Regions from separate parts of the Homo sapiens genome. Here all the other regions are linked to region 2. The links are contacts of gene promoters, found by promoter capture Hi-C in human tissues and cell types (Jung and others, 2019). All regions are on one chromosome and are shown on one strand. The core of a region is centred on a gene start or on the middle of the fragment in contact, and the rest is flanking DNA. Distances in the headings are between cores, read along the strand shown. Region 1 holds the start of LOC124905010 (a long non-coding RNA gene). Region 2 holds the start of DONSON (DNA replication fork stabilization factor DONSON). Region 3 overlaps SYNJ1 (synaptojanin 1). Region 4 holds the start of LOC124905011 (a long non-coding RNA gene). Region 5 overlaps CFAP298-TCP10L (CFAP298-TCP10L readthrough). Region 6 overlaps SYNJ1 (synaptojanin 1). Region 7 overlaps PAXBP1 (PAX3 and PAX7 binding protein 1).

Region 1 (2,700 bases), core at 147-2,646, 840 kb after region 2:
TAAAAATAGTAGGGTCTGGTCAGGCACGGTGGCTCTCGCCTGTAATCCCAGCACTTTGAGAGGCCGAGGCGGAGTTTGAGACCAGCTTGGCCAACATGGCAAAACCCCGTCTCTAAAAATACAAAAATTAGCTGGTGGCGGGTGCCTGTAATCCCAGCTACTCAGGAGGAGGCTGAGGCGGGAGAATCGCTTGAACCTGGGCGGCGGAGGTTGCAGTGAACTGAGGTTGTGCCATTGCACTCCATTCTGGGCGACAAGAGCAAGACTCCGTCTCAATAAATAAATAGATAGATAGATAGTAAGGTCTGATAATTAGGATATTCTGAAGTAAGAGCTAAATTTTGGTTTTGTTTTTCCTGTTGCTGATTTTGGTGACACATCTCTGTTGATATCAGTAAATATCAATTGATAAGTAAAAAAATATGCAAGTCTTAACTTGGATGTCTTTCATCTTGCATGTGCTCACCTCCCTCCCCTCTCACCCAGTCGTTTGGGTTGTTTGCCTCCCCTTACTGTCATATCTTCATAGTGTGGAACTAAAACGTAGAAATGAGGGAAGTATAGTGGACAGATGTTTCCCCCACCCCTTCTTTTACCTAGGCAAGAGATTAGGGGAGTCTTTTTTGATTAAAGAGAGTAGGTCCAAAATAAAGACCCTGAAACACTAAAATCTGGGGATCCCCAACAAAAGAACTGGCTCAGTACCTAGTGATCCGACGGAGACACCTCTGTTAGACAGCTCCTGCCCACACACACAGCTTCCAGTCTTGCTCTTCTATATGAACAGGCAGTTAACGATGATCATAAGGACCAACCTGAGCAGCAGAACCAAAGGGACTGAGGAAACAGACAGTGCTGGTACAAGTATGCAAGTTTTCTGTAAACAGATTACTTTCAAACAGTTGGGAGCCCCAGGGAGATAATAGAAGGTATCCTACTCAACAGGAGTATATAGAATGCTGTAGAAGAGGAATATTGTAAGAACAAGAACTATCTCTTGAAAACTAAAAATATGATAACTGAAATATAAATTTAAATAGGATTGGAAGCTAAAGCTAGGAAATTACCCTAGAATGTTTTTTGAGAAATGGAAAATACGAAGACCAAAAAAATAAAATAAAACTATGCTGTGAAAGAGAAAGATTAGCATTTGAGAAGGCGGAAGTTGGTCCTGCTCAGATGCGGTTTTCAGATGCCTTATTCTAAAAATAGTGATAGAAAACAAATTTCTACAAAGCAAAATTACAATAAATTTATTAAACTCTTGCAACAAAGCTGTTTTCTTATGTCTTCCTATGTTTTCCTGCTGTCATTCAATGTGATGCTGAAGTTCTTCCTCCTTAAAAATGTAATATTTTTCCCTTTGCACAGGTAATTTAGAGTTTTAATTTATTTGGTCATCATGATAGCTATTCCTGATAGCTGTCCTGTTACTTAGACATAAAAATAGTGAGTAAGCCCAATTACATATTTGTAGGGTTGTTGAACTCTTAAAAAGAAATCACTTCTTTAATTTTTCTACTTTTTAAAATGGGAACGCAGAATAATAATGAAATTTGTTCTAAACCAAAAACCTACCTGGTTTACCAGTTATTGCAGAATCTTGCCGTTGAGATTAGCAAGCAGTCTGTCGTAATGGCTTATTCTGTGCAAACTCTTTCCTCAAGATTGTTGAAAGATGGCTTTTAATTTTAACTGTTGTTGTTTTGCAGACAAAGCTCTGATGGCACCAAATCTTGACTCCTTTGGACGCGATCGGGCACTGTATCAAGAGCATGCAAAACGTCGCATTGCAGAGCGGGAGGCCAGGAGGTAATTCTCAAAACCCTTGCTCTGGCTTGTTTGGGAAGGGAGGAGTCTCTGTTATCTAGTTTGGGAACTTGATGTTTATTATTTAGGACTCGTCGTAGACAAGCCAGAGAACAAACCGGTAAGATGGCAGATCACCTTGAAGGCCTTTCCAGTGATGATGAAGAAACTTCTACAGATATTACTAATTTCAATCTGGAAAAAGGTTAGACATTTATTTGGAAATAAGACTCATCATCAGTTTAGTTTCTACTTGGGTATGGTTTTTACCATGAAATGATTTGAATCTTCATGGTCTCTGCATTAGAACCAGACACTTCTTTTTTAATTGCAGAAATTTGCATGCCTTTTTATTAGTGAATATCATGATGAATTCTCAAAAATAGGGGTAACATCTTCTCATAGGGTGTACTTAGTATTTGCATAATAAATGTTGTTACTGTTCCAAATGGTAGAATTTTAAGTGACTGGAAATGTGTCAGGTCCTTGAGGGCAGCTCTCATTGCAGCCTGTCTGGTCTGGAAAGGTAAAGCTTGGCAGTAGAGCACTCAGCCCTGAAGGAAACTCTTGATTTGGGGAGTCATAAGTAATCTCACCTTAGAGGAATGGTTAGTACTATTATGTGCCAGGCATTTTCAGAAGGATCCCAAATAAAAGTCTTCATTTCCCACCATTGGCTATAATTGTTTGGAATTATATCAATTGCACACCATTTGGAACTTAGTTGGAGAAGCTTCTTTCTCTTACTTTTTTTACAGTGAACATTTCTAAACAAAATTTGAAAGACTAGCACAGTGATCATCCACATACCTATCACTCAGATAACAATGCTTATGATTTCACCAAGTTTGCCTGGCTCTTTATACAAGGAGATGTGTGTGTTTGCTGAAC
Region 2 (2,700 bases), core at 57-2,556:
ATATACCACCCTGTTTGTTCTACTTATCTTTAACTAGACCTGACATTTCTAATTTCATTCCTTCTCAGACCTCAGTTGGATGAACCCATTCCACTGTATGAGGCAAAAGTTTCCATGGAAGCTGTTCAGAAAAATCAAGGAAGAAAAAAGCAAGTTGTTCAATTTTAATTTTCTTCTTTCTCAGACCTCAGTCGGATGAACATATTCCAGTATTTGAAGCCAGAATTTTCTTTGGAAATTGTTGAGAAAAACCAAGGAAGATAAAACAAGTTGCATTTTTAAGCACGTTTCTCTGCTAAGACAAGATGCTCAGTTGACACATTTGAAAAGTGTTTGAAAAATTCTTGTGCAAATGATCAAGATAATTCTATAATTAACATCTTAAGGGAATTTTTCTAAAAACCTTTTCATTGTTTCTATATATTTTGCCCCTGCTATAAAATTCCTTCCATGAAGAAAACTGCTGCTTTCAGCAAAAGTCACACTACTCTTGATAAAAGCTGTTGCAGGCCTTTGCTAAGCTATCAAAGTAACGTATTAATTTTGTATCAACTCCGTTCTCAACACCTTCCTTAAGTCTTTGCTGTCATAATTTAAGCATTTGAGTATATTTTGAAGTCTTAAAAGACTTAGCCCATAGGCACTTAAATTTTGTGTTTTCAACTATTCATTCACTCCGGCTTTCCCCAGGATCAAAGAAGATCCCATTAACTTGCCAGTGGCAGCTGCCTGGAAGTCTGAGATGACCAGGCACTGGGAACGGGGAAGGGAGGGATGTCGGTAGGCTGCGCTGGCATAGGAAGCGTGCTGACGTCTTATCTGAGTTCTCTGGGGGTTGAGGAAGGTGGCCTAGTCCCCTCTCCTCGCCTCTTGAGAGCAGTAGCCACTGCCCTCTCTTAAGTTTATGGAAGCAGCAGCCCATCGCCGCAGCTCAAGTTTGTTTCCTTTTCATCCAGGCGCCAAACCCCGGGCTGATCACATCCCTGCTGCGGGCTTAAATAGAGTTAAGCTATTTCGGTGCCCCACAGGGTAGTGCACATCAGCGCCCTGGATCGCATACTTTCCAGAAGCGTCGCTGAACCTGGCGACTGGACTCTGGCCGAGGACCTGGCAGAAGCGCCAGGGCAGGGTCACCGCTGGGACAGTGGGCGTTGACGGCCACCCGGGATCGCCGCTGCGGGCTGCGTCTCGCGGGCTGCCCACTGCGCATGCTCCGCTCGGAACCGGCGGGGGCGGAGGCGGGGCCGCGTCGGGGGCGGGAGCTCGGCGAGGCGCCACGTCAGGGGCGGGCCCGGCGCGCGCGGGAAGTCTCTGTAGGGCGGCCGGCTACCCTCAGCCGCCGCGCGTCATGGCCCTTTCGGTGCCCGGCTACTCACCGGGCTTCCGAAAGCCGCCCGAGGTAGTGCGGCTCCGACGGAAAAGGGCCCGGAGCCGTGGAGCTGCCGCCTCCCCGCCCCGTGAGCTGACGGAGCCGGCGGCCCGCCGAGCCGCCCTGGTGGCGGGGCTGCCTCTTCGCCCTTTCCCTGCTGCGGGGGGCAGAGGCGGTGGCAGCGGCGGCGGCCCGGCCGCTGCTCGGAGGAACCCCTTCGCCCGCCTGGACAACCGACCGCGGGTCGCCGCGGAGCCCCCCGACGGGCCGGCCCGCGAGCAGCCGGAGGCCCCGGTCCCGGTGAGTGTCTTGTAGCCTGGCCGCCAAGGGGCTCTTGTCTTTCGTGGGTTGAGCCAGCTGTGAATGGGGGATGGAAAGTCCTCGCGTTCGAGGCAAGGAAATGGGCGCGAAGACTTCGGCCGCCCGTGGCCTTAGGGTACCCCGCCCTGGGAGCCGCGATTCTGGCAAGGCCGGGTTTGTGGGAAGAGCGCTCCCCTGGCTACCCCGCTGCGGGCTGTGCTCACGGGACGCGTTCCCGAGGAAAGTGAGGGGGCCCCAGAGGGCAGCGAGGAGCCCCTTGGAGAGGACTTAGAGGTGACTTGGAAAAGAGCTCGAAAAACCCTGAGAGCCCCCATCTTGCAAGGACGCTGTTCGATGGGGCAGGTGACAAGCCCTGCTTCCCCCGTGATTTAGGGCCTCCCTTCTCTCACGCACTCCAAATTATTCTGGAGATGGGGGAATGTCGAGGATTCGTGGGGTCAGAATTCACTAGCATCTGTCTTACCCAAAGCCTTTTGGATCTTTCGGTTTGAAACGCCGGTCCCTGTTCCCCTCAATTTTGATACTAAAGTTCAGACACAAAACTGAAGTGTTGAAACTCATAGATTGGATGGGGTGCCTCTGAATTTAGGTGTACTTGCGTTTATTGAGAAACATGTATGCCAGGTGAGGCTCTGTACATATTTAACGCAAACTTCAGCATCCTTTAAATTTTAAAGGAGAATATATTTAACCTCAGTTTTTAGATTCTAATCAAGAAAATGATTTGCTATGGGAAGAGAAGTTTCCTGAAAGAACAACTGTTACTGAATTACCTCAGGTAATACTTTTTAAATATCATTAGAATGTGTATTTGTATAAACTTTTTTTTCATAGGATTTGAGCCTATTTTTAAAAATACATTTATACTTCTCAGAAGCATTTTGCTTGGAAAGTAGTTTTACAGAGAGGCTTGATCATCTCAACCAGGGATGAAAATACCGCATCAGCCAAGGTAAAGGAGTTGGTTTGATACAGTAATGATGACTGTAAAGATAGCCAGCGCTAAAATA
Region 3 (2,700 bases), core at 106-2,605, 900 kb after region 2:
GAAGACATGAAAACTGGATTTTTTTCACCTTATGCACCGTTGCAGTACTATGCAAAATAAATGTTAATCAGTAAACAAAAATGCTAAGTTTTGAACTTGTATGGAGTGATAGGCAATTAATCTGGGATTACTCCAAAGAAAAAGTATCAACTTGTGAGTTTTCTGCAGTCTAAAATGCTTAATGTCCTGGGACATACGTCTTTCAAATTTTAAACTTTTATGAATATTATTAAGTACCATAAAATGAAATTGAACACAGATGTGACATTAGGCTAATTGATTTCTTATTTAAAAATTAAAGAGAGAATCCCCTGGTTATCAGAATACTCATTAGATTATCTGACTTAGTGCAGTGAGGGATAATGCTTAATGAATGATAATACTGTACTGTTAATTCAGTTTTGGAATTGGATGAGCATATTAGAGTTTATTTTCTGGTTTTACTTGTCCAATTACATGACTGATTTGACAACCCCCCTTTTACACCCTCTTTAAAAGCACTTTGCGCGGGGCGCGGTGGCTCATGCCTGTAATCCCAGCACTTTGGGAGGCTGAGGCGGGCAGATCACAAGGTCAAGAGATTGAGACCATCCTGGCCAACATGGCGAAACCCTGTCTCTACTAAAAATACAAAAATTAGCTGGGCGTGGTGGCGGGCGCCTGTAGTCCCAGCCACTCGGGAGGCTGAGGCAGGAGAATCGCCTGAACCCGGGAGGCAGAGGTTGCAGTGAGCCGAGATCACGCCAATGCACTCCAGCCTGGCAACAGAGTGAGACTCCGTCCCCCACAAAAAAAAGCACTTTGTTCACAGGTTAGCAAGAATGAATTTTGGGCAACTTTTTTGCCCCCCCTCAGTGATCCTTGTTGTGATTGGGCAACCTTCATTCCAACGTCTCAGAGAGAAATGTTTAAATTGAAGTTCAGGGAAATAATCTGGTCTCACCTATATATTTCTTCTTGGCATGTTATATCTTTCTCAATTATGCCTCATCTCTCTGCTATTCTCCTGTGTAAGAAAAGAAAAATTATAACAATATACAATAGGTAGATATTTTCCATCTTGTTTAATTTGCTTAACCCAAAATTCCTGATTCTGCAAAATGTGCAAATACTATAATTGGGTGATGGCAAGGTTGACTTGGAAAGTCTGCTTTTCCAGGAAGGAATGATATTCTCAATTTGGTGGAACTTTGGTGTGAATAGAATATTCAACATAGTAGAGAAGAAAACACATAGACATTTGTATTGGTAGGCAGCTTGGAGGAGTAGGAATTTAGGTCAGAGACATAAAGTCTCATCTGAATCTCTTTTGGAATTGGTTATGTTGATCTCAGATAGCAAGTTATTTTACCTGTTGGTATTTTGGTTTTTTTAATTACCCAAATGGTAATAGTATCTGTTACACAGGGCATGTAGTTTGAACTTAAAACAAAGTACCATATATGAAAACACCTTTAAAAATAGTTTTCATCAATAAAAATTCCTACTAGTTTACGAGTATTTCATAATGATGTAACTTCTTTTTTTGATGAGGTTGGTTTTTTAAAAATAAAGGTGGAGGGTGGAAATTCCCTGGAACTTGTTTTTTTAAAAGCATATCATGAATGGAAATCAGTTATTTGATTAACGACTGTGTGTTCAGCAAAGAAATTGTTAGATATTGTAAGCAGTGATATTTCTTTCGTCTATATGTTGGTTTTTGGTTTGATTAAATATATTTTTCTTGTCTAAGGTGGGATCTCATCGTGTCCGTATGTCAAGGGGATTTGAAGCCAATGCACCTGCTTTTGACAGGTAAGACAATTTTTACATAGTGCTTTAAGTTTTGATATTGCTAAGCAGTGGGACTGCTTGTATTTACTGATTCACTTCAAACTTTTTTGGCTTTAAATAAAATTCCTCTGACTCCTAATTTAATTGAAAGACAGTGACACCTAGTGTTACGACTTCTGGGGGTGGTAGTGCTGGAAGTGTGGGTCTTGATCTCTTGACCTTAAAACTTCCTCTGTGGGCGCATTGTCCAGTATAGCAGCCACTAGCCACATGTAGCTACTGGGCACTTGAAATGTGACTAGTCTCAGTTGAGATGTGCTGCAAGTATAAAATGCACACTAGATTTCAAAGACTGCCTTAAAAAATAAAAAAGAATGTAAGGTATCTCATTAGTAAAATCATGTTCGGTATACTCAGAGTATTGGTTCTACCCTCACATACCAAAATCTGTGCATACTCAAGTCCCACAGTCGGCCATGTGGAACCCATGCTTATGAAAAGTCATCATTCATATTCATGGGTTTTGCATGCCAGGAATACTGTAGTTTTGATTCTTCTTTGGTTGAAAAAAATCCATATATAAGTGGACTTGCACAGTTCAAACCTGTGTTGTTGAAAGGTTAACTGTAGTTGTTTTATATTGATTACATGTTGAAATGATATTTTAGACATGTTGAGTTAAAGAAAGTATAATTAATTTCATGTTTATAAATGCACCTTCTTGAAAATTTAACATTATAGGTGTGGTTTATGTTACATTTCTTTGTGTGGCATTGCTCTACATAGTTTCTGGAATGGTTAGAAGCTGGAAAGAGAAAAGACTCGTATTTGGGGCCCATTTTTCTGAAGACTGGAGCTAGTAAGGAGGTCCCTCTGAATACTCAACGGAGTAGGTGATGTCCTCACATGTGAGCAGCAGCCCTTTGC
Region 4 (2,700 bases), core at 110-2,609, 930 kb after region 2:
GTCTTTTCCACTGTGGCCGCAAAGGGACTACGTTCCAGTCCTTGATCCACATGCGATCACTTGGAGAGAAAGGGTGAACTGGGGAGAATAAGCTGACGGGACACCTCTCATTTACCCAAGTTGAGATTGTTTGTGTAATTTTTCCCAAAGCCCGTAGCTGTCACTGTAACTCAATTTCACCTAACTCTCGGGGAGTGCCTGGAAGTCCCCCTAGTATAGGAGGAGGCCTATGATACAGTATTTCATAAGGGGAGTATCCTGTTAGAAGGGATGCATCTAATTTTAAACAATACCATAGGAAGGGCCTGTATCCATTTTAATCCTGTTTCCTGACATACTTTCCCTAAACTATTTTTGATAGTCTGATTCATTCGCTCCACCTTTCCAGAACTCTGAGGTCAGTAGGCGGCATGTAGTTTCCAAGTGATTCCTAATGCCTTTGCTGTCTTCTGTACCAAGTCAGCCACAAACACCGGCCCGTTATGTGAGCCAATTCGTAAGGGCAGTCCAAACCTAGGAATAAGATCTCGGAGAAGCACACGGGTTACTTCGTAGGCCTTTTCAGTTTGTGTTGGATAAGCCTCCACCCACCCAGAGTAAGTACACACAAGAACCAGCAAATACTTGTTACCTTCACATTTTGGCATTTCTGTGAAATCCACCTGAAGACCCTCAAAAGGAGCCGCTCCATAAGCTTGTATGCTGGGTGGAACCGTGGGGCCTTGCCTCACATTGCGCTGTCAGCAAGTAACACACCATTGTGCTACTGCTTTGGCAAGGGCTGGCAAGTGTGAGATGTAGAAGTACCGGCCTAACAACTTTTCAAGTGACTCTTGACCTAGAAGAGTGGTTTCATGCATGGCCAGTACGACTGTGGCTCTCAGCAACTGTGGCACAGCTACCTTCCCATCTGGCAGTCTGATCCATCCTTCTTTTATTACTTGCCCCACTTCTGTGTGGAAAAAGTCTTTTTCTTCCTTAGAATAGGTAGGTACCAGGTCAGGTGTTTGAGGGAGTAAGGGGGCTGCTACTGATGCACAGTAAGGGGTAGATGCTGCTTTTCGAGCTTCTGAGTCAGTTTGGGAGTTTCCTAAGGCCACTGAGGTGGAGGCTCGCTGGTGTCCCCTGCAGTGCATGACTGCCACCTTCTGAGGTTTCCACACTGCCTCTAATAATTGTAGAATTTCTTGTTGATATTTTATGTCCTTTCCCCTAGAGTTTAACAGGCCCTTTTCCTTATATAATGCTCCATGCACTTGGAGGGTTAGAAAGGCATATCAAGAGTCAGTGTAGATGTTTACAGTCTTACCTTCACTGAGTTCTAGAGCCCGAGTTAAAGCAATGAGCTCAGCCTTCTGGGCTGAAGTGCCCTGTGGCAATGGTTTGGCTTCAATGACAGCGTTCAAAGTTACCACCGCATATCCTGCACATCTTTCTCCATGTGGATTGATGAAGTTGCTCCCGTCCATGTATAACTCCCAGTCTGCTGATGCCCATGGCTGGTCCCGAAGGTCAGGTCTGCTAGAATAAACTGAGTCCAACATGTCTACACAGTTATGCTTGACCAGGCTCTCTGATACTGGGAGCAGGGTGGCGGGATTTAGGGTGTTACAGACGTCAGTGATTATGCGGGGATTTTCACATAGCAAGCTTTGGTACTTGGTTAATCTAGCATTTGTTAGCCAATGATGTCCTTTGGTATTCATCAAAGTTACCACAGTATGGAAGGCCTTTATATTCAGGTTTTGCCCAAGGGTTAGTTTATCTGCTTCTTGTGCTAACAGGGCCATTGCTGCCAGGGCCCTTAGACATGGGGGCCAGCCTTTGGAAACCCCATCTAGTTGTTTTGAGAGATAGGCCACTGGCCTTGGCCAGAGCCGCACAGTCTGGGTTAAAACTCCAACTGCCATTTTTTATCTTTCTGACACATAGAGTGTAAAGGGGTTTGTCAAATCTGGTAGTCCTAGGGCTGGGGCCAACATAAGTTTTTCCTTTAACTCATGGGGGCCTGCCATGCGCTGCTGTGGTGAGGCGTTCGACCGGGGCAATTACCTACCCGGAAGTGCTCTCAGGATCCGCATTGCTCAAGCTGGCCGGAGTCCCCCACAGGGATGTGCCACAGGGCAGGCCTAAGCCACCTAAGGGGCTGCCTTGACCATCCGTTAATCACCTCACTTCCCGGTCGGGGAACCAAGAAATGTAGCAGGACGAGCCTCAGACAAGAACCCCTCAGACACCGAGTTGTAGAAGGAAAGGGCTTTATTCAGCTGGGAGCATCGGCAGACTTGCGTCTCCAAAAACTGAGCTCCCCGAGTGAGCAATTCCTGTCCCTTTTAAGGGCTTACAACTCCAAGGGGGTCCGCGTGATAGGGTCATGATCAATTGAGCAAGCAGGGGGTATGTGACTGGGGGCTGCATGCACCAGTAATCAGAACAGAACAGGACAGGGATTTTCATGATGCTTTTCCATACAGGCCTGAAATCTATAGGTAACACAAACAGTTAGGTCAGGGGTTGATTTTTAACCACCAGGCCCAGGGCGCAGTGCTGGGCTATCTGCTTGTGGCTTCCATTTCTGCCTTTTAGTTTTTACTTCTTCTTTCTTTGGAGGCAGAAATTGGGCATAAGACAATATGTGGGGTGGTGTCCTCCCTTAAAAGTAATAAAAATAGGAAAGAGAAAACCCATAATAATTCCCAT
Region 5 (2,700 bases), core at 1-2,500, 980 kb after region 2:
CTCTTCCCTAAATTCCACACTCGCACTCTCTCTCAGTTCATTTACCCCCTGACTCAGACAGAGGGGATTGAGGTATTTCAGAAGAGGCTTTGTATTTGACAGCTCTTTCTCCCTCTCTCCTTTTTATTTTTATAGCTCCAAATGAGAAGATGAAGCAAGTGTTAAAGAAGACTATAGAAGAAGCCAAAGCAATAATATCTAAGGTTGGCTTTTTTAAATGATGCACTAAAACTTGTTGGGTTTTTTTTTTTTTTTTTGGAGATGGAATTTTGCTTTTGTTGCCCAGGCTGGAGTGCAATGGTGCGATCTCGGCTCACCACAACCTCCACCTCCTGGGTTCAAGCAATTCTCCTGCCTCAGCCTCCCGAGTAGCTGGGATTACAGGCATGCACCACCATGCCGAGCTAATTTTGTATTTTTAGTAGAGACGGGGTTTCTCCATGTTGGTCAGGCTGGTCTCGAACTCCTGACCTCAGGTGATCCGCCTGTCTTGGCCTCCCAAAGTGCTGGGATTACAGGCATGAGCCACCGCGCCCGGCCTAAAACTTGTCTTTTGAGATAAAACTCCAACTCTGGCTTCCAGAGTTGCCTCTCAGCCAGCCTTCTCTTTCAGCCTTCCGGAGGCAAAGGAAACAAGCGTATTTGGGGTAGGCTGTAGCTTTTCCTTTCATAATCCTGACGGTTGCCCAGAGGCCTCTCCGTTCCTCCAGGCAGACACAAATTTTTGTTGGCTTATGTAAATATAGGTTCACGTATAATACAAATATGTATAATACAAATGTTGATTTCATTTCTTTTACCTTTTTGAAGAACTTAACAAAGTTAAGTAGGGGAGATTTGAATATTGTGGCCATCGAGTAGCTCTCCAGACACTTGATTGACTTAATATGTATTTGATATAAATGGTTTTTTGTAATTGTCTTCAGCATTTTATACAAAGGCTAGTTTATAGAGGGAGGAGCGTAAATTTATACCATTGATATACAGATAATGTGTATCTGGAGGAAGAGAATTTAAGGCTATTGAAAGAAGTGGTATCTGTATCTGTTGCTTGTATTTGTGTGTTGGTGATATTAGTTGCTACCGCTCTCAACTGCAAGTCTCTTGACTGATCACCACTTTTTCTTCTGCTTCTCCTGGTTTGCTCAGCAGAACTGTTATTTTTAAACCAATATTTCTCAAACTTACCAAGCTTTTGACTAATCTTTGAAGAGCCTCAGCAAAGGCTGCCCTGAAGCTCTGTGCCTGTTAATATAGGAAAGGCTTTATGAAGCTCTACAGGAGAGGCCCTGGTTGAGCCCGTCGTTTGCGTGGTGATGGCATCTAGGCATGTGAGCACGTCTCAGGCCATGGCAAGAAAACAGTGGTCTGGCTGTTGTTCTGCACCCTTCTCCCCACACTTTGCTGTGGAACTCCTCTCTCGGTCGCCTCACTTCTCCCCTTTGCCTGTGTACTTCTGAAAGTACTTTTTATCCTTGGTCTTCTTCCTCTCTCAGTATCTTATCTACTCTGCCAAATGCAAATTCCACCCTCTGCAGATAACTCTGAAGCTTCCATCCTTTCCCCCTGACATCTTGCTTCACTTCCAACCTGAATTTCCAGCTGGTTGTGAGATGGTTCTATCTGAACACCCAGTCAGCACTTTGAAGTCCAGTTTTCTAGAAATGAGCTCTTTGCTTCCTCACTCCTCTCCCTCTCTGTTCTGTCCCTGAGAATCAGCACCTCCTATGAGCTTCTCTGTTTCCAGTAACAGAACCACAGTGTCTTGGTTTTATAGGGCAAATCCTCAGTGTCATCTTCAACACTTCTCCCTTCTGTCACCTCTAGGTTTGAAGTGGGGTTCTGTACCGTCTGCTCCCATGATGCCTCTTAAGTCCACCTCTTCCTTTCACTTCCACAGCTGTGGCTTTCTTTAAGGCTCTCCTGTAGCCTTTTGCATTCTGATGCCCACTGGGGGTCCTGCCAGTCAATTCAATTCCGTTCTGACACTAACTACTCAGAGACAGCACAGACCCCACAGGTCAAGGGCAGATCCTTCAATTCTGACACTAACTGCCTGGAGTTAGCATCAGACCTAAAAGTTAAAGGGTGAGATCACCAACAAGACTCCTCTTATTTCAGACACCAGCTGCACGTGAGGTCCCCAGGCCACCCATACTTGTGTCCAGCTTGACTACAAATTTGGAGCTTCCCACAACGCCCCCACTGATGTGTGTCACCCGGCACATCAACGTCTTCACCAATCAGGAAGCTTCACTGAGCCATGATGTCTGGGATTTTTATAGCGTTTTTGTTCAGTAGGCATGATGGCTTAAACCACTGGCCACGTGTTTGATCCCAACCTCTAGCGCCTGGAGGTGGAGGAAGGGAGTGAGGCCGAAAGCTCCAACCCTCTAATTATGTGCTTGGTCTCCCAGGCACGGCCAGCCCCTTCCTTGAAACCCAGCGCGGACTACAGGTTACTGTATTAGCACAAGCTCAGGTATGGTGAGAAGGGGCTCGTTATAAATAACAAGACACTCCTGTCACTCAGGAAATTCCAAGAGTTTTGGAGCTCTGTGCCTGGAACTGAGTAGCAAAGACCAGATATATTTGTTATTTCATCACACCTTCCTCTGTACTCTTCAGAGCCTGCTACCTGGTCTCCCTCCAACTAGGTCTGTTCTTTTTTTTGAGGCAGAGTCTTATTCTGTTGCCCAA
Region 6 (2,700 bases), core at 164-2,663, 880 kb after region 2:
AAACAATTTAAAATTAGGTTCTCCCATTGTAATCTGTTAGAACTCCATTATAGTACTTACTATAATTTATAATTTTGCATTTGTATGGTTATATAATTCCTGTCTTCCTAATCTGATTCCTAAGAAGGTGTCACGGTACTGACTGTTTTTATTCCTAGAACCTTGCCAGGGGCCTGGTGCATGGTAGGCATTCAATAAATACTTCTTGCGTGAATGAAAGTTTTTTTTTTTTCCTTAAATGTCACCAAGATTGGAATGTGAAGTTTAAATAGGACATTAATTTAGATAGTTTAATATCTTTCAGCTGGAATTTTAATTACTTTTGTAAGAGAAACCTTTTCCTTTTAAAATAATTTTTCTCTTTATATATGATGAAATGGAAAGAAGCTTTACTGCCAGCTAGTTATGTGATCTTGGATGAATGATCTAATCTCTACTCTTTTTCTTCTGAAAATGAGAAGCTTGGATTACATGATCTCTAGGATCCTCATACAGGAGGTTCTCTGGTTCTATACCAAAGTGCTGTCTGCATGCAAATAAGCTCACCACAAACTGCAGTGCATGCAACCACAGGCAAATTGTGGTTCTAGAGAGATCATTCTAACATGCAGTCTTATTTTTACATTGTTATTGACCTTCTTTAGCTTAGTCTTCTGTATCAGCTGGGGAAGAACAGTGTATTCTCAGACTGCAAGGTTTGACCCACAGCAGAATGTTGACATTGGATAGTAGGCCCTTCATTTGGATGGCTTTATTATTTAGCTTAAATTATTATAATCCATCAGAAGTTGGAGAAATTTACATTTAAATTTAATCCTGAAAATACTTTTAAAGTAAAATGAAAGTGACATTTAAGTTACCTATTGCTCTTGGATAAGAAGTTAATTTTGTTTCTTTTCTGTTCAGATGTGGAGTTAGCAATGCAGGTGTGATTATCATGCGACAACTATGTTATGTTTAACAAGCCTCTCTTTTAGAGCCACAACTCATGAAAATCAAGAAATAGGTATATGATTATGTCTTCATCTGAATTTTTATATTTGATCCTAATACTTCATTATTTGCCTTAAATTCTAATTTGAGAAACGAGGTTGTAATACAACAATGCTGAATAATGCCAGTTATGTCACATGACATAGTATTATAAGTCATTGCTGGGCGCGGTGGCTCACACCTGTAATCCCAGCACTCTGGGAGGCTGAGGTGGGCAGATCATGAGGTCAAGAGATCGAGACCATCCTGGCCAACATGGTGAAACCCGTTTCTACTAAAAATACAAAAATTAGCTGGGCATGGTGGCGCGCGCCTGTAGTCCCAGCTACTCTGGAGGCTGAGGCAGAAGAATCGCTTGAACACAGGAGGTGGAGGTTGCAGTGAGCCAAGATCACACCACTGCACTCCAGCCTGGCGACAGAACGAGACTCCATCTCAAAAAAAAAAAAAAGTAAGTCACTCCAGAAAAAAGAAAAAGGTGGAGGATGTCAAATAATATGATAGAGCACAATTGATATGTTAAATTTTGATAGAGAACAATTGATATATTTATACTCTGAGTGTTTTCTGTAGTCTATAAATAGACCACCTCTACCGTTTCTATTTTTGTCACCTTCCAGTAGCTTAACGAGGAAAAGTTGTAGGTTGGGGCTCCCTTCAGTCATGCATGAATTTGTTCAGTTAAAAGAAGTTTGAAAACATGCACAAAACTAAAATAAGGAAGGAGTTGAGTTATCTGAATTAAGTTGTAGGATATTACTACCTCATGGCTTTATATAGTTTTAAATATTTCCTAACTTCTGTGATAATGAGCAAAAACAAACTTATTATTTTCCAAGTATAGTTTCCATTTCAACAGTTAGAATATTAAAACTAAATTATTTAGGAAGAATATAAGGAAAACATTGATGGCAGGGTATAACAATATTTACCCTTCCTAAGGCCTCCATTCTGGAATTACTAAATCTTTTCCTTTCTTAATTTATTATATATTTACTATTTGATGAGTGTTTGAGAGCCTTGGGAAGTGTGGGCTATGGGGCCATTCTAAAGATTGTAGGACTTACAAGTCCCTTTGAAGTTTATAAAAGTCCAAATCAATCAGGTGCAATGGCTCACACTTATAATCCCAGCACTTTGGGAGGTTGAGGCGGGAGAATCGCTTGAGCCCAGGGGTTTCAGGTTACAGTGAGCTATGATCATGCCACTGCACTCAGGCTTGGGTGAGAGTGAGAGATCCTGTTTGGGAAAAAAAAAAAAGTTCAAATGTCTGTTAAACTTTTGGCTAATGCACTCCTGGTCTAGGGTAATTAGAGAAAAGTTCTTCTCTGATCCCTTAGAATTCCAGTAGCTTCTGGCTGTCTCAAGATAATTGGCCAGAGTTATCTCTCTCCTTTCTGAATTTATCCAATAGTTCAAAGAATGTAATAATTTTTTTAACATTTTATTTGGAGAAATAGTGTAACTGTTACATATGTCACCTAGCCTCCATAATATCAACTCATGGACACTTTTGTTTTTCTATATTTCTACCTACTATCTCTCCCTCCTTATTTATTTATTTATTTATGTTTTTATTTATTTATTTTGAGAAGGCATCTTGTTCTGTCACTCAGGCTGGAGTACAATGATGTAATCTCGGCTCACTGCAACCTCAACCTCCTGGGTTCGAGCTTTTATGCCTTAGCCTTCCAAGTAGCTGGGATT
Region 7 (2,700 bases), core at 80-2,579, 850 kb after region 2:
TACTAATTAATGAGATGCTGCTATATTTTTTTCTTTTAGGGAAAACATAAAACAGATAGTAAAACTCCTTGCAAGTGTTCGAGCTTTGGATCATGCTATGTCTGTTGCAAGTGACCACAATGTGAAAGAATTTAAGTCTTTGATCGAAGGAAAATAGATCTATGAGACTGAAAAACCTATTTGCTTGATTACCATTCCCAATGTGTAAATTTTGTATATATGTAAAGTTTCTTAAACTGTAAAATAGCAATTCTTGTTTTAATACAAAAAACATTATATTCAATACTGTGTCCTTAAATGATATTTCTTCAGAATGAAAGGAATTCAGATTATTTCTAGGAGTCTATGAATGTTTTCTTTACTGCCTGTCATACTTTGTTTACTGAAGTATTTTGTATGGTCATTTAAATTAACCCTCTCAGTTAATTGTCCCCTGTAAACGATGTGTGCAGTGTAAATTGTGTAATTATGCATATATATATTTATACCACCATGGACTTACTTTCACACTGGAAATTTGTGGTGTTTTTCCACAGAGGAAGCCTTTTAACAGCAGAAAATTATCCGGTAGCAAATTGTCTTAGGGAAATTACTACACTGTTGTAACAAAAGGGCTGGCAAGTGACTAAATGTTCATTACCTTTTGGTTAGCGTTGCTATCACTGTAGCTGTGCTGCCTTAACATTGAGAGTTGAGTTGTGGACTTAGTCATTGAGTGAATGTTGAACTTTCTTCCTTGAATCAGCGTTAGAGTCAAATGTGGGTTTAATGTGAATGCTAAATGAATATGCAACATAGTTTCAAATGGAACATAGAAATTTCACTTTTGAAAATAATAAACCCACAACCTAATTGCATGGTTTTGGGCTGACCGTCCTGTCTCATTCATGATTTTACTCCCTGCCCAGCTTGCAGATACATGCATTTGAATTTTAGTAGTCTGTCATATTTAAAATCCCACATATGTGAGTTAAATATGCAATAAAGAATACGCCTTGCTGATTAGCCACACCCAGGCAATTTAATATCCATGGTCTTCTATAATGTTTATACCACATTGTAAATATTCAGAGAACTTGTTTTAAAGTTTATGCTTTCTGATTCTGTGATTTTCAAAAGAGGAATTTTTTTGGAAATTAAGGACTATCGTTTGATAATTATATATGTAATTAAGATTTAGCCAAGCATTAAATTAATTTTTAAATATATCCTTTGTTGTATTTTCCTGACGACTAAATTTGCAGCATTTCAAATGACTCTAATAAAGTGGGACTGTGAGCAGGCCCATGTGTACCCTTGATCAGGACATAATATGCAGAACAGTGTCATGCACTGTATTTGCTCTGTTAATTTTATCTTATCCCTACATATTTGTATTAGTTCATTCTCACGCTGTTATAGGGACATACTTGAGACTAGGTAATTTATAAAGAGGTTTAATTGACTCACAGTTCCGCATGGGTGGGAAGGCCTCAGGAAACTTACAATCTTGACGAAAGGCACGTCTTCACAGGGTGGCTGCAGAGAGAAATGAGTGCTGAGGGAAGGGGGAAGTCCCTTATGAAGCCATGAGATTTCATGAGAACTCAGGAGAACAGCATGGCGGAAACCACCCCCCATGATTCAGTTATCTCCACCTGGTCCCGCCCTTGATGTGGGGATTATTACAATTCAAGGTGAGATTTGGGTGGGGACACAGAACCAAACCAAATCAGTATTCATTCTGGATGAATTTTTCATTACACCTTACTGGCCTACTAAGTAGAATTAAAGTCAGAACACCTATTCCTCATCTTAAGTAGAATAAAACATAAAACATGTATCTGTATCACATACAGATCATTTAGGCCTTAAACTGCATATTATTTCCAAACCCATTAGACTAATTACTCTGCTTTTAAGAACTCTTAAAATAGAGTTTTTATCCTATGAAATCTGTCAGGCTATATTGGTTTCAGGAATGGGTTTGAACATCACACTAGGAATTTGATGTAGGGTACATAAAACAATGGTTTTTCTATCCCAAGCAGAACATTTTTATTCCTGAAATAGCTTAAGGACATTATTTCTTATGAAAGGAATTATCAAAAGATAAATCCAGAGGGTTACATTTTAATAAAGCTGGTTTTGCTTTTCAGTTTTTTCTTTTGGAGCAATCCTCTGAATTAACTCCAAAATAGGTGACAAATGTTTTTGAGAAGGAAAGCTACTTTATTGAAACAACATAAACCACAGTCAAGAGTGACTAGTACTACTGTAGCCAATGATGTCGAAGTCTCACCATGTCCCTGTTCTTGCCACTGGTGTCCTCTTGCAAGTATTTGCTCCTCTGCCTGAGGGCTTTTCTTTGGCCTGTGCAACAGGCTGGAGTGTCCTGGAGATACTTCCTGGAACAGATCTCAGCCAAGGGAGAAAAGGAATTGGAGGCTAAATGCCCCAGTGTGTCAGTTAGGGTCCTCCTGGGAGCAGACACTGAGATGGTATTAAATGTACAGGAAGTTTATTGGGGGAATGCGTATAAGAGAAAACGGAGGGGAGCCTGGAGGAGGCTGGGAAAGCTGTCAGACAATGAGGCAGGCAGGTCTCACCTGTGTGAAGGAAGGAGGATGAAAGTCTTAGACATTGGTGCAGTTCTAAAGTTTCAGCAGGGCCAACTGGCAGCTCTGACAGGTACAACCAGGGGTCTCCTTGCTAGTATGA

Evidence for each region. The method cuts DNA at HindIII sites, captures the fragments that hold promoters and counts their contacts. A contact is called where the count stands out against the background at its distance.
Region 1: a contact is called between a fragment that was not itself captured here and the fragment with the promoter of DONSON in region 2, in 2 of the 25 tissues and cell types used here (dorsolateral prefrontal cortex and spleen).
Region 3: a fragment that was not itself captured here is called in contact with the fragment with the promoter of DONSON in region 2 in 2 of the 25 tissues and cell types used here (lymphoblastoid cells and spleen).
Region 4: a fragment that was not itself captured here is called in contact with the fragment with the promoter of DONSON in region 2 in 2 of the 25 tissues and cell types used here (dorsolateral prefrontal cortex and spleen).
Region 5: a contact is called between a fragment that was not itself captured here and the fragment with the promoter of DONSON in region 2, in 1 of the 25 tissues and cell types used here (dorsolateral prefrontal cortex).
Region 6: a contact is called between a fragment that was not itself captured here and the fragment with the promoter of DONSON in region 2, in 1 of the 25 tissues and cell types used here (hippocampus).
Region 7: a fragment that was not itself captured here is called in contact with the fragment with the promoter of DONSON in region 2 in 2 of the 25 tissues and cell types used here (dorsolateral prefrontal cortex and spleen).

The regions. Positions count from the first base shown.
Region 1 is chr21:32,750,231-32,752,930 of GRCh38, reverse strand. PAXBP1 (PAX3 and PAX7 binding protein 1) reads left to right here. Exons shown (of 18, transcript NM_016631.4): 9 at 1,713-1,812; 10 at 1,899-2,014. LOC124905010 (a long non-coding RNA gene) reads right to left here and starts at 1,677. Exons shown (of 2, transcript XR_007067844.1): 1 at 1,579-1,677; 2 at 1-815. The HindIII fragment of the contact is 4,263 bases long and covers 1-2,700 here.
Region 2 is chr21:33,587,290-33,589,989 of GRCh38, reverse strand. DONSON (DNA replication fork stabilization factor DONSON) reads left to right here and starts at 1,306. Exons shown (of 10, transcript NM_017613.4): 1 at 1,306-1,669; 2 at 2,388-2,468. The coding sequence starts at 1,349. CRYZL1 (crystallin zeta like 1) reads left to right here. Exons shown (of 13, transcript NM_145858.3): 13 at 69-649. The coding sequence ends at 168. RefSeq lists an enhancer at 1,118-1,617 and a silencer at 1,076-1,765. The HindIII fragment of the contact is 19,336 bases long and covers 1-2,700 here.
Region 3 is chr21:32,687,400-32,690,099 of GRCh38, reverse strand. It overlaps SYNJ1 (synaptojanin 1), which reads left to right. Exons shown (of 33, transcript NM_203446.3): 7 at 1,733-1,794. Among named protein-coding and RNA genes, the nearest start is that of SYNJ1, 39 kb to the left of the region's middle. The HindIII fragment of the contact is 4,811 bases long and covers 1-2,700 here.
Region 4 is chr21:32,659,325-32,662,024 of GRCh38, reverse strand. All of the region lies in intron 18 of SYNJ1 (synaptojanin 1), which reads left to right. It overlaps LOC124905011 (a long non-coding RNA gene), which reads right to left and starts at 797. Exons shown (of 2, transcript XR_007067845.1): 1 at 632-797; 2 at 1-526. RefSeq lists a silencer at 614-803. The HindIII fragment of the contact is 4,160 bases long and covers 1-2,700 here.
Region 5 is chr21:32,605,152-32,607,851 of GRCh38, reverse strand. It overlaps CFAP298-TCP10L (CFAP298-TCP10L readthrough), which reads left to right. Exons shown (of 12, transcript NR_146639.2): 3 at 136-203. It overlaps CFAP298 (cilia and flagella associated protein 298), which reads left to right. Exons shown (of 7, transcript NM_021254.4): 3 at 136-203. Among named protein-coding and RNA genes, the nearest start is that of CFAP298, 5.9 kb to the left of the region's middle. The HindIII fragment of the contact is 4,387 bases long and covers 1-2,700 here.
Region 6 is chr21:32,710,082-32,712,781 of GRCh38, reverse strand. All of the region lies in intron 2 of SYNJ1 (synaptojanin 1), which reads left to right. Among named protein-coding and RNA genes, the nearest start is that of SYNJ1, 17 kb to the left of the region's middle. The HindIII fragment of the contact is 3,764 bases long and covers 1-2,700 here.
Region 7 is chr21:32,732,407-32,735,106 of GRCh38, reverse strand. It overlaps PAXBP1 (PAX3 and PAX7 binding protein 1), which reads left to right. Exons shown (of 18, transcript NM_016631.4): 18 at 40-1,208. The coding sequence ends at 157. It overlaps PAXBP1-AS1 (PAXBP1 antisense RNA 1), which reads right to left. Exons shown (of 4, transcript NR_038879.1): 2 at 1,450-1,518. Among named protein-coding and RNA genes, the nearest start is that of PAXBP1-AS1, 5.6 kb to the right of the region's middle. The HindIII fragment of the contact is 7,980 bases long and covers 1-2,700 here.